Linked DNA regions of Homo sapiens: region 1 is linked to region 2. Evidence: promoter capture Hi-C in 16 types of primary human blood cells and fetal thymus (Javierre and others, 2016). All regions are on one chromosome and are shown on one strand. The core of a region is centred on a gene start or on the middle of the fragment in contact, and the rest is flanking DNA. Distances in the headings are between cores, read along the strand shown.

What was found. Contacts are between HindIII fragments. The CHiCAGO score rates a contact against its expected background, and 5 or more counts as called.
Region 1: a fragment that was not itself captured here is called in contact with the fragment with the promoter of EIF1AY in region 2 in 1 of 17 cell types (neutrophils); the score reaches 5.3 in neutrophils.

The regions. Positions count from the first base shown.
Region 1 is chrY:20,919,838-20,925,226 of GRCh38, reverse strand. No RefSeq gene overlaps it. Among named protein-coding and RNA genes, the nearest start is that of RPS4Y2, 170 kb to the right of the region's middle. The HindIII fragment of the contact is 8,728 bases long and covers 1-5,389 here.
Region 2 is chrY:20,572,883-20,577,941 of GRCh38, reverse strand. It overlaps EIF1AY (eukaryotic translation initiation factor 1A Y-linked), which reads right to left and starts at 2,166. Exons shown (of 7, transcript NM_004681.4): 1 at 2,055-2,166. The coding sequence starts at 2,070. TTTY10 (testis expressed transcript, Y-linked 10) reads left to right here and starts at 2,427. Exons shown (of 10, transcript NR_197944.1): 1 at 2,427-2,836. The HindIII fragment of the contact is 11,947 bases long and covers 1-5,059 here.

The DNA of each region.
Region 1 (5,389 bases), core at 449-2,948, 350 kb before region 2:
ACAAAACTTCCAGAGGAACGATCAGGCAGCAGCGTTTGCATTCACCAAGATCCGCTGTTCTACAGGAATCACTGTTCTGCAGCCACTGCTGCTGATACCCAGGCAAACAGGGTCTAGAGTGGACCTCTAGCAAACTCCAACAGACCTGCAGCTGAGGGTTCTGTCTGTTAGAAGGAAAACTAACAAACAGAAAGGACATCCATACCAAAAACCCTTCTGTATGTCACCATCATCAAAGACCAAAAGTAGATAAAACCACAAAGATGGGGAAATAACAGAACAGAAAAACTGGAAACTCTAATAAGCAGAGCACCTCTCCTCCTCAAAAAGAATGATGCTCCTCACCAGCAACAGAACAAAACTGGACAGAGAATGACTTTGATGAGTTGAGAGAAGAAGGCTCCAGATGATCAAACTACTCCAAGCTACAGGAGGAAATCCAAATCAATGGCAATGAAGTTAAAAACTGTAAAAAAAATTAGATGAATGGATAACTAGAATAACCAATGCAGAGAATGCTTTAAAGGAGCTGATGCAGCTGAAAGCCAAGGCTCAAGAACTACGTGAAGAATGTAGAAGCCTCAGGAGCCAATGTGATCAACTGGAAGAAAGGTTATCAGTGATGGAAGACAAAATCAAAGAAATGAAGTGAGAAGGGAAGTTTAGAGAAAAAAGAATAAAAAGAGATGAACAAAGCCTCCAAGAAATAGAGGACTATGTGAAAAGACCAAATCTACATCTGATTGGTTTACCTGAAAGTGATGGGGAGAATGGAAACAAGTTGGAAAACACTCTGCAGGATATTATCCAGGAGAACTTCCCCAATCTAGCAAGGCAGGCCAACATTCAGATTCAGAAAATACAGAGAATGCCACAAAGATACTCCTCGAGAAGAGCAATTCCAAGACACATAATTGTCAGCTTCACCAAAGTTGAAATGAAGGAAAAAATGTTAAAGGCAGACAGAGAGAAAGGTCGGGTTACCCACAAAGGGAAGCCCATCAGACTAACAGTGGATCTCTCAGCAGAAACTCTACAAGCCAGAAGAGAGTGGGGGCCAATATTCAACATTCTTAAAGAAAAGAATTCTCAACCCAGAAATTCATATCCAGCCAATCTAAGCTACATACGTGAAGGAGAAATAAAATCCTTTACAGAGAAGCAAATGCTGAGAAATTCTGTCACTACCAGCCTGTCCTAAACGTGCTCCTGAAGGAAGCACTAAATGTGGAAAGGAAAAACTGGTACCAGCCACTGCAAAATCATGCTAAATTGTAAAGACCATTGAGGCTAGGAAGAAACTGCATCAACTAACGAGCAAAATAACCAGCTAACATCATGATGACAGCATCAAATTCACACATAACAATATTAACTTTAAATGTAAATGGACTAAATGCTCCAATTAAAAGACACAGACTGGCAAATTGAATTAAGAGTCAAGACCCATCAGTGTGCTGTATTCAGGAAACCCATCTCACGTGCAGAGACACACACAGGCTCAAAATAAAAGGATGGAGGAAGATCTGCCAAGCAAATGGAAAACAAAAAAAGGCAGGGATTGCAATCCTAGTCATTGATAAAACAGATTTTAAACCAACAAAGATCAAAAGAGACAAAGAAGGCAATTACGTAAAGGGATCAATTCAACAAGAAGAGCTAACTATCCTAAATATATATGCACCCAATATAGGAGCACCCAGATTCATAAAGCAAGTCCTTAGTGACCTAGAAAGACAGTTAGACTCCCAAACAATAATAATGGGAGATTTTAACACTCCACTGTCAACATTAGACAGATCAATGAGACAGAAAGTTAAAAAAGATACCCAGGAATTGAACTCAGTTCTGCACCAAGCAGACCTAATAGACATCTACAGAACTCTCCACACCAAATCAACAGAATATACATTTTTTTCATCACCACACTACACCTATTCCAAAATTGACCACATACTTGGAAGTAAAGCACTCCTCAGCAAATGTAAAAGAACAGAAATTATAACAAACTGTCTCTTAGACCACTGTGCAATCAAACTACAACTCAGGATTAAGAAACTCCTTCAAAACCACTCAACTACATGGAAACTGAACAACCTGCTCCTGAATGACTACTGGGTACATAACAAAATGAAGGCAGAAATAAAGATGTTCTTTGAAATCAACGAGAACAAAGAACAACATACTAGAATCTTTGGGACACATTCAAAGCAGTGTGTAGAGGGATATTTATAACACTAAATGCCCACAAGAGAAAGCAGGAAAGATCCAAAATTGACCCCCTAAAATCACAATTAAAAGAACTAGAGAAGCAAGAGCAAACACATTCAAAAGCTAGCAGAAGGCAAGAAATAACTAAAATCAGAGCAGAACTGAAGGAAATAGAGACAAAAAAAAAAAAAAAAAAACGCTTCAAAAAATTAATGAATCCAGGAGCTGGTTTTTTTGGAAAGATCAACAAAATTGATAGACTGCTAACAAGACTAATAAAGAAGAAAATAGAGAAGAATCAAATAGACACAATAAAAAATGGTAAAGGGGATATCACCACCGATCCCACAGAAATACAAACTACCATCAGAGAATACTATAAAAACCCCTATGCAAATAAACTAGAAAATCTAGAAGAAATGGATACATTCCTCGACACATATGCACTCCCAAGACAAAACCACGAAGAAGTTGAATCTCTGAATAGACCAATAACAGGCTCTGAAATTGTGGCAATTGTCAATAGCTTACCAACAAAAAAAGGACAAGGTAGATTCACAGCCGAATTCTACGAGAGGTACTAGGAGGAGCTGGTACCATTCCTTCTGAAACTATTCCAATCAATAGAAAAAGAGGGAATCCACTCTAACTCATTTTAAGAGGCAAGCATCATCCTGATACCAAAGCCTGGCAGAGGCACAACAAAAAAGAGAATTTTAGACCAATATCCTTGATGAACATTGATGCAAAAATCCACAATAAAATACTAGCAACCCAAATCCGGCAGCACATCAAAAACTTATCCACCATGATCAAGTGGGCTTCATCCCTGGGATGCAACACTGGTTCAACATATGCAAATCAATAAATGTAATCCAGCATCCAGCATATAAACAGAACCAAAGACAAAACCATATGATTATATCAATAGATGCAGAAAAGGCCTTTGACAAAATTCAACAAGCCTTCATCCTAAAAACTCTCAATAAATTAGGTATTGATGGGGCATATCTCAAAATAATAAGAGCTATCTATGATAAACCCACACTCCTATTCAACAGAGTGTTGGACGTTCTGGCCAGGGCAGTTAGGTAGGAGAAGGAAATAAAGGGTATTCAATTAGGAAAAGAGGAATTCAAATTGTGCCTGTTTGCGGACGACATGATTGTATATCTAGAAAACCCCTTTGTCTTGGCCCAAAATCTCCTTAAGCTGATAAGCAACTTCAGCAAAGTCTCAGGAAACAAAATCTATGTATAAAATCACAAGTATTCTTATACACCAATAACGGACAGAGAACTAAATCTTGAGTGAACTCCCATTCACAATTGCTTCAAAGAGAATAAAATACCTAGGAATCCAACTTAAAAGGGATGAGAAAGACCTCTTCAAGAAGAACTACAAACCACCACTCAATGAAATAAAAGAGGATACAAACCAATGGAAGAACATTCTATGCTCATGGGTAGGAAGAATCAATATCATGAAAATGGCCATAGTCCCCAAGGTAATTTATAGATTCAATGTCATCCCCATCAAGCTACCAATGAATTTCTTCACAGAATTGAAAAAACTACTTTAAAGTTCATATTGAACCAAAAAAGAGCCTTCATTGCCAAGTCAATCCTAAGCCAAAAGAACAAAGTTGGAGGCATCACGCTACCTGACTTCAAACTATACTAGAAGGCCACAGTAACCAAAACAGCATGGTACTCTTACCAAAGGAGAGATACAGATCAATGGAACAGAACAGAGCCCTCAGAAATAAAGCCGCATATCTACAACCACCTGATCTTTGACAAACCTGACAAAAACAAGAAATGGGGAAAAGATTCCCTATTTAATAAATGGTATTGAGAAAACTGGCTAGCCATATGTAGAAAGCTGAAACTATATCCCTTCCTTACACCTTATAAAAAAGTTAACTCAAGATGGATTAAAGATTTACATGTGAGACCTAAAACCATACAAACCCTAGAAGAAAACCTAGGCTATACCATTCAGGACATAGGCATGGGCAAGAACTTCATGTCTAAAACAGAAAAAGCAATGGCAACAGAAGCCAAAATTGACAAATGGGATCTAACAGATCTAAACTAAAGAGCTTCTGCACAGCAAAAGAAACTACCATCAGAGTGAACAAGCAACCTACAAAATGGGAGAAAATTTTTGCAACTTACTTATCTGACAAAGGGCTAATATAAAGAATCTAGAATGAACTCAAACAAATTTACAAAAAAAAGCAAACAACCCCATCAAACAGTGGGTGAAAAGTGGGCAAAGGATATGGAGAGACACTTCTCAAAAGAAGACATTTAGGCAGCCAAAAAACACATGAAAAAGTGCTTATCATCACTGGCCATCAGAGAAATGCAAATCAAAACCACAGTGAGATACCATCTCACACCATTTAGAATGGCAATCATTAAAAAGTCAGGAAACAACAGGTGCTGGAGAGGATGTGAAGAAATAGGAACACTTTTACACTGTTGGTGGGACTGTAAACTAGTTCAACCATTGTGGAAGTCAGTGTAGCGACTCCTCAGGGATCTAGAACTAGAAATACCATTTGACCCAGCCATCCCATTACTGGGTATATACCCAAAGGATTATAAATCATACCGCTATAAAGACACATGCACACGTATGTTTATTGTGGCACTATTCACAATATCAAAGACTTGGAACCATCCCAAATGTCCAACAACGATAGACTGGATTAAGGAAATGTGGCACATATACACCATGGAATACTATGCAGCCATAAAAAATGAAGAATTCATATCCTTTGTAGGGACATAGATGAAAGTGGAAACCATCATTCTCAGCAAATTATCACAAGGACAAAAAACCAAGCACTGCATATTCTCACTCATAGGTGGGAATTGAACAATGAGAACACATGGACACAAGAAGGGGAACATCACACTTCAGGGAATGTTGTGGGTTGGAGGGAGAGATAGCATTAGGAGATATAACTAGTGCTAAATGACGATTTAATGGGTGCAGCACACCAACATGGCGCATGTATACATATGTAACTAACCTGCACATTGTGCACATGTACCCTAAAACTTAAAGTATAATAATAATTTAAAAAAAAAAGAAACTGGGAGGCAGGTTTTGCGGTAAGATGAGATCTTATCACCGCACTCTAGCTTAGGTGACAGAGTGAGAC
Region 2 (5,059 bases), core at 917-3,416:
GGGAAGGGTAACAGAGGACTTTAATGAATCTAGGTTATAATTCCTAGAGGTATGGATTTCTAGGAGTTCACTGTATTACTATACTTCTTTTTTTTTTTTTTTTTTTTTTTTGAGACGTAGTCTTGCTCAGTCGCCTAGGCTGGACGTAGTCTTGCTCAGTCGCCTAGGCTGGAGTGCAGTGGCGCGGTCTGGGCTCACTGCAAGCTCCGCCTCCCGGGTTCACGCCATTCTCCTGCCTCAGCCTCCCCACGGCCGGCTAATTTTTTTTGTATTTTTAGTAGAGAGGGGGTTTCACCATGTTAGCCTGGATGGTCACGATCTCCTGACCCCGTGATCCACCCGCCTTGGCCTCCAAGGTGCTGGGATTACACGCGTGAGCCACCGCGCCCGGCCACTATACTTCTTTTGTGTGCCTTCTGAGGCACATATGATAAAAAAAAAATTGTTTTCAATTTACCAGGATTAACCAAACCCTGATCATTCCCCTTCTATTGTGATACCATGTAACAGAATCCACTTTAAATTATATTTTAGAGGAATGAGGCTAGGCATGATCATACAAAAATTAAAGTCGTTTAATATTTTATCTCGTTTCCTTTCTAAGATCAAAAAATCCACACTTCCTCTTTAAACAAATCCGACGTGTTTTGGAGATACTCTCTTTATTGAGAACATTTTTAGGCATCACTCAGTTTAAAAGTTCTACCCTACAAGAATAAAGGAAGCCTTACTATTTAAGGATAGAGTCAGGTACAGGGATAATAACATCAGCAAAGATTTAATGGACATTTTGCAAAGGGAGATACTCTGATCTTTAGAGCTGATGGCTTAGAGAACTGGGAATCTCATCACTAGAAATAAAGGTGAGAACAAGATACCTACTGAAGTTGTTCAGTACCATCTGAGAAAATGTTAGTGAAAAAGCATAAGCCTTTGCTAACTCTTTCTAATTAGACTTCTCCCAGAATACACTTTATCCTCCAATAATTTTGCAGTAAAAAATAAAATAAAATAAAATAAAACCTTATTATACACACAACCCGTTAGTGGGTTTTCGGGAGAGCAAAGAGTAATGCCCAGGAAAGACTGCACTGTACTGTCACCAAGTACCTCAAGAGCTGTGTGTCGTGACAGCTAAAAAGAGAAAATGAAACAGATTCCATGCTGCCAACAGGCAAGTAAAAAGAAGACAAATTGGTCTGGGTCCCAGGAAGGAATAATCTAAACAGAGTTTTTGTGGACTATAAAACATGGTCCCCTCCTGTGGAAAATAATATTTTGTTTCCACCTACAGTTTTCTTCAAGCAATTACAAGGGCACTAAAAGTGAGAGATTACCTCAGGTGTATAAAAACGAGAATTTCTTTCAGAAATGACTGAGAAAGGGTTCTACCGAGGTTAGACCTCCTACTTTAGAAGCTGTGAGTAAACTTATTTTCAAGTCTAAGTTTCGTGTGAAAGTTTAGCCTCAGAATGAAGGGAACGTTGATATCTTTACTCCCACAATATTTATCGGATACGGAAGTTGAAAACCTGCCTAAATAGGTAACAAATCTTCTGCAAAAGAATGTTACACTCTATAAAGGGATGGGGTAGAGTAAAACGCCAGAAATGAACCTAAACATGCTTCAAGGCTTCCCCACTGTTTAACAAGGAAAAGGGAGTATCCTTAGCAATACTTTTAACTGTCCAGATAGGTAAGTCTTCAAAGTTAAGAACCGCTTCCAGGAAAGTAGCAGGGAAGTGTTTGCATGTGCCTATTCTGGAAAGCCAGGCCGTCCGGTTAAGGTCCCTCAACCGTCCCTACCTATACGTTTTCCGTCTGGCGTGAAATCAGCAGCAAAAGCCCGCTATCTTCCGAAGGAGGCCCCACAAAAATGGCGTCTGTCCCACCCCAATGTGACCAAATAGGGCATTCCCAGCTCCTTTCCCGAACACAGTGCTGGGGTCGCAGTGGCCAGTACCGCCGTTAGAACAGTCACTGCGGCCTGGAACAGGCGTCGGGGTTACTGGCAGAGCAAGCCGAGGTATAGTCCCAGAGGCTTACAGCAGTACCTTTATTCTTGGGCATGGCGGTGATGACAGCCTCGTGAGACCTCTTCCGACTCCTTTCTGGCGGTTACTACTCTAAGAGCCGACTGAACTAAGATGCAGCAGGTGGGTGCGCAGAAGAGGCTGGCTACAGAGCTCTCTAATAAACTGCTGACGCGCACTCTCTGGCGTCACCAAAAGGCGACGCAGCTGATTACGATGCTTTTCCCCGCCTCTCTTCGGCTGAGGCACGGCCAAATGACTGACACCTAGTAGACTCCATCAGGATACCGGAGAGTTTGCTGCAGGATGAATAAACAGGAAGCGGGGCGGGACTCAGCATGGAGAAGGTGGAGTCAAGGATGAAATGGGCGGGGCCCTGGAGTATTCTCCTTTGCTAAAAAACGGTCTTCCAGTTTCAGAAGTTCGTGGGTCATTTAACTGTAAACGCCTAAATTTTAAGAGAGCCCTTACTCTTATACAGTGAATTTGGAGGACTGGCTTAGGACAAGGCCCTCTATGTTCAGAATGTTTATCACTTTTCTCTCTTTTTTTTTTTTTTTTTTGACAACGAAGTTTCGCTCTTGTTGCCCATGCTGGAGTGCAGGGGCGCGATCTGCCCGTCTAATTTTTGTATTTTTAGTAGAGATGGGGTTTCACCATGTTGGCCAGGCTCTCAAACCCCTGACCTAGTGATCCTCCCGCCTCTGCCGCCCAAATTCCTGGGATTGCAGTAGTGAGCCACCGCGCCCGGCCTATTTTTTTCAGTCTTATCTTCTCTACCTCACCACCTCACAGTAAAGCATGTAAGTACAGAGGCCGCATCTGTTGCTTACAATTGCTAGCACCCAGCGGAATACTGACAAAAAGTAGACAGTAAATATATACAGGAAATGGAAAGTAAATATACATAGGAAGGAGTGAGACTAAGCATCTGAATCTTATAATAAATCATGGCTTAACCGAATGTCTCAAATGGACTGGCTGTGGAGGTCAAATTATTTCAAGACAAATTCCATTTGATTATGGTATACAATCATTTAATTTACTGGATTTGTTGTGTGTGTACTATTATGTTTAGAATCTTAGCATCTGTGTTAAGATATATTGGCTTGTATCGTGTGATGACTTTGACTTTAGGATCAATATAATCCCGGCTTCACAGAATGAACTGTGTAGTGTCCCTTTTTCTTCTGTGTTTTTGGACACATTCGAGGATTGATGTAAATTTTTTAAATGGTCCTAGGCCTTAGTTTGGATTATGAATTCGTGCTGTATTTATTCCCAAGTCAGTTCTGGTAGTTTGTATGTACCAGAAATTTGTTCATTTATTCTAAATTATAAAACTTGTTGGGCGTATAATTGGCCATCATATACAAAGTATAGTATCTTCCTAATCCTTTTTTTTCCCTTTCTGCAAGGTAAATAGTATGTATGTATCAGGACTTTGTTCATTTATTCTAAATTATCTTACTTGTTGGGCATATAATTGGCCATCATATACATAGTGTAGTATCCTCCTAATCCTTTTTTTTTCTTTCTTTTTTTCTGCAAGGTAAGTGGTAGTACCCTGATCATCACTACTGGTTTTAAGGAATTTAAGTCTTCATGGTTTTGTTTTTAAAAGCCTAGTGATGAAGCCATAACATTAAAAATAAAATTTTCTCTGAACCCAGAAGTCCTCTCCACAAAGACAGTAGAGAATGAAATCAGTTTTACTGTTAAAAATATGAAATATGAATTTAATGTACATTGTAGAAAATCAACCAAGAGATTACAAAGTCAAAAACAAATCTCGCCTTTTATATAGCTAAGCATCAAGGTAGTCTTCAAGATAGACAAATTTTCTTAAAAGAAATTACTGGTTGATCAGTAGTCTTTAATAAAGAAAATTTAACGGCACCATTTGTCACATACCCTTAGTTTACAATGGTAACAGGGGACCACATGTTATATAGCTAATTGTCTTTAATCAGAAGAGAAACTGACTTCTCATATTTTTAATCTCAAGAGGTTGTTTTGCAGTTCAGAGAAAAGCACCTACTGAGGTTAAGTTCTTACCTTTTACTGAAACTGGAAACAGAGGGGCACCTTCTCTCTTTATGTTTACGTTTCAAAGAGATAGTTCCTAGGTCCATTAGATAAATACTGCTGTGTTGTTGATATGCTTTGGCTTTGTGTCTCCATCCAAATCTCATCTGGAATTATAATCCCCATGTGTTAAGGGAGGGACCTGATGCAAAGCTATTGGATTATGATGTCAGTTACCCCCATGCTGTTCTGATGATAGTGAGGGAGTTCTCACAACAGCTGATGGTTTTAAAAATGTTCTGCAGTTTCACTCTCTCAGCTTCCTGCCTCCATATAAGATGTGTCTTTCTTCCCCTTCACCTTCTACAGTGATTTTAAGTTTCCTGAATCCTCCCCAACCATGCAGAACTGTGAGTCAATTAAACATCCTTTCTTAATGAATTACCGAGTCTCAGGTTGTATTTTTGGAGTAGTGTGATAACAGACTAATACAGAGAATTGGTACCAGGAATGGGGTATTGTGGAAAACCTGAAAATGTGGAATCAACTTTGGAACTGGGTAATGGGGGGAGGTTGGAACAGTTTGAAGGGCCTAGAAGAAGACAGGATTATGTGGGAAATTTTGGCACTTTCTAAAGACTTGAATTTTTTAACCAAAATACTGGTAGTGACATGGAGAATGAAGTCTAGGCTGAGATGGTATCAGATGGAAATGAGGAACTTCTTGGGAACTGGAGTAAAGGAAACACATGCTGTGCTTTAGCACAGCAAATGGTGGTAGTTTGCTCCTGCCCTATGGAACTTTGAATTTGAGAGATATGATTTGAAATTGGAACTTATGTTTAGAAGGGAAACAGACCATAAATGTTAGGAAAATTTGCAGCCTGACCATGTGATAGAAAAGACGAAAAAACCCAGCATTTTCTGGAGAGAAATTAAAGCTGACTGCAGAAATTCGTATAACTAATGAGGAGCTTAATGTTAATAGCTATGACAAT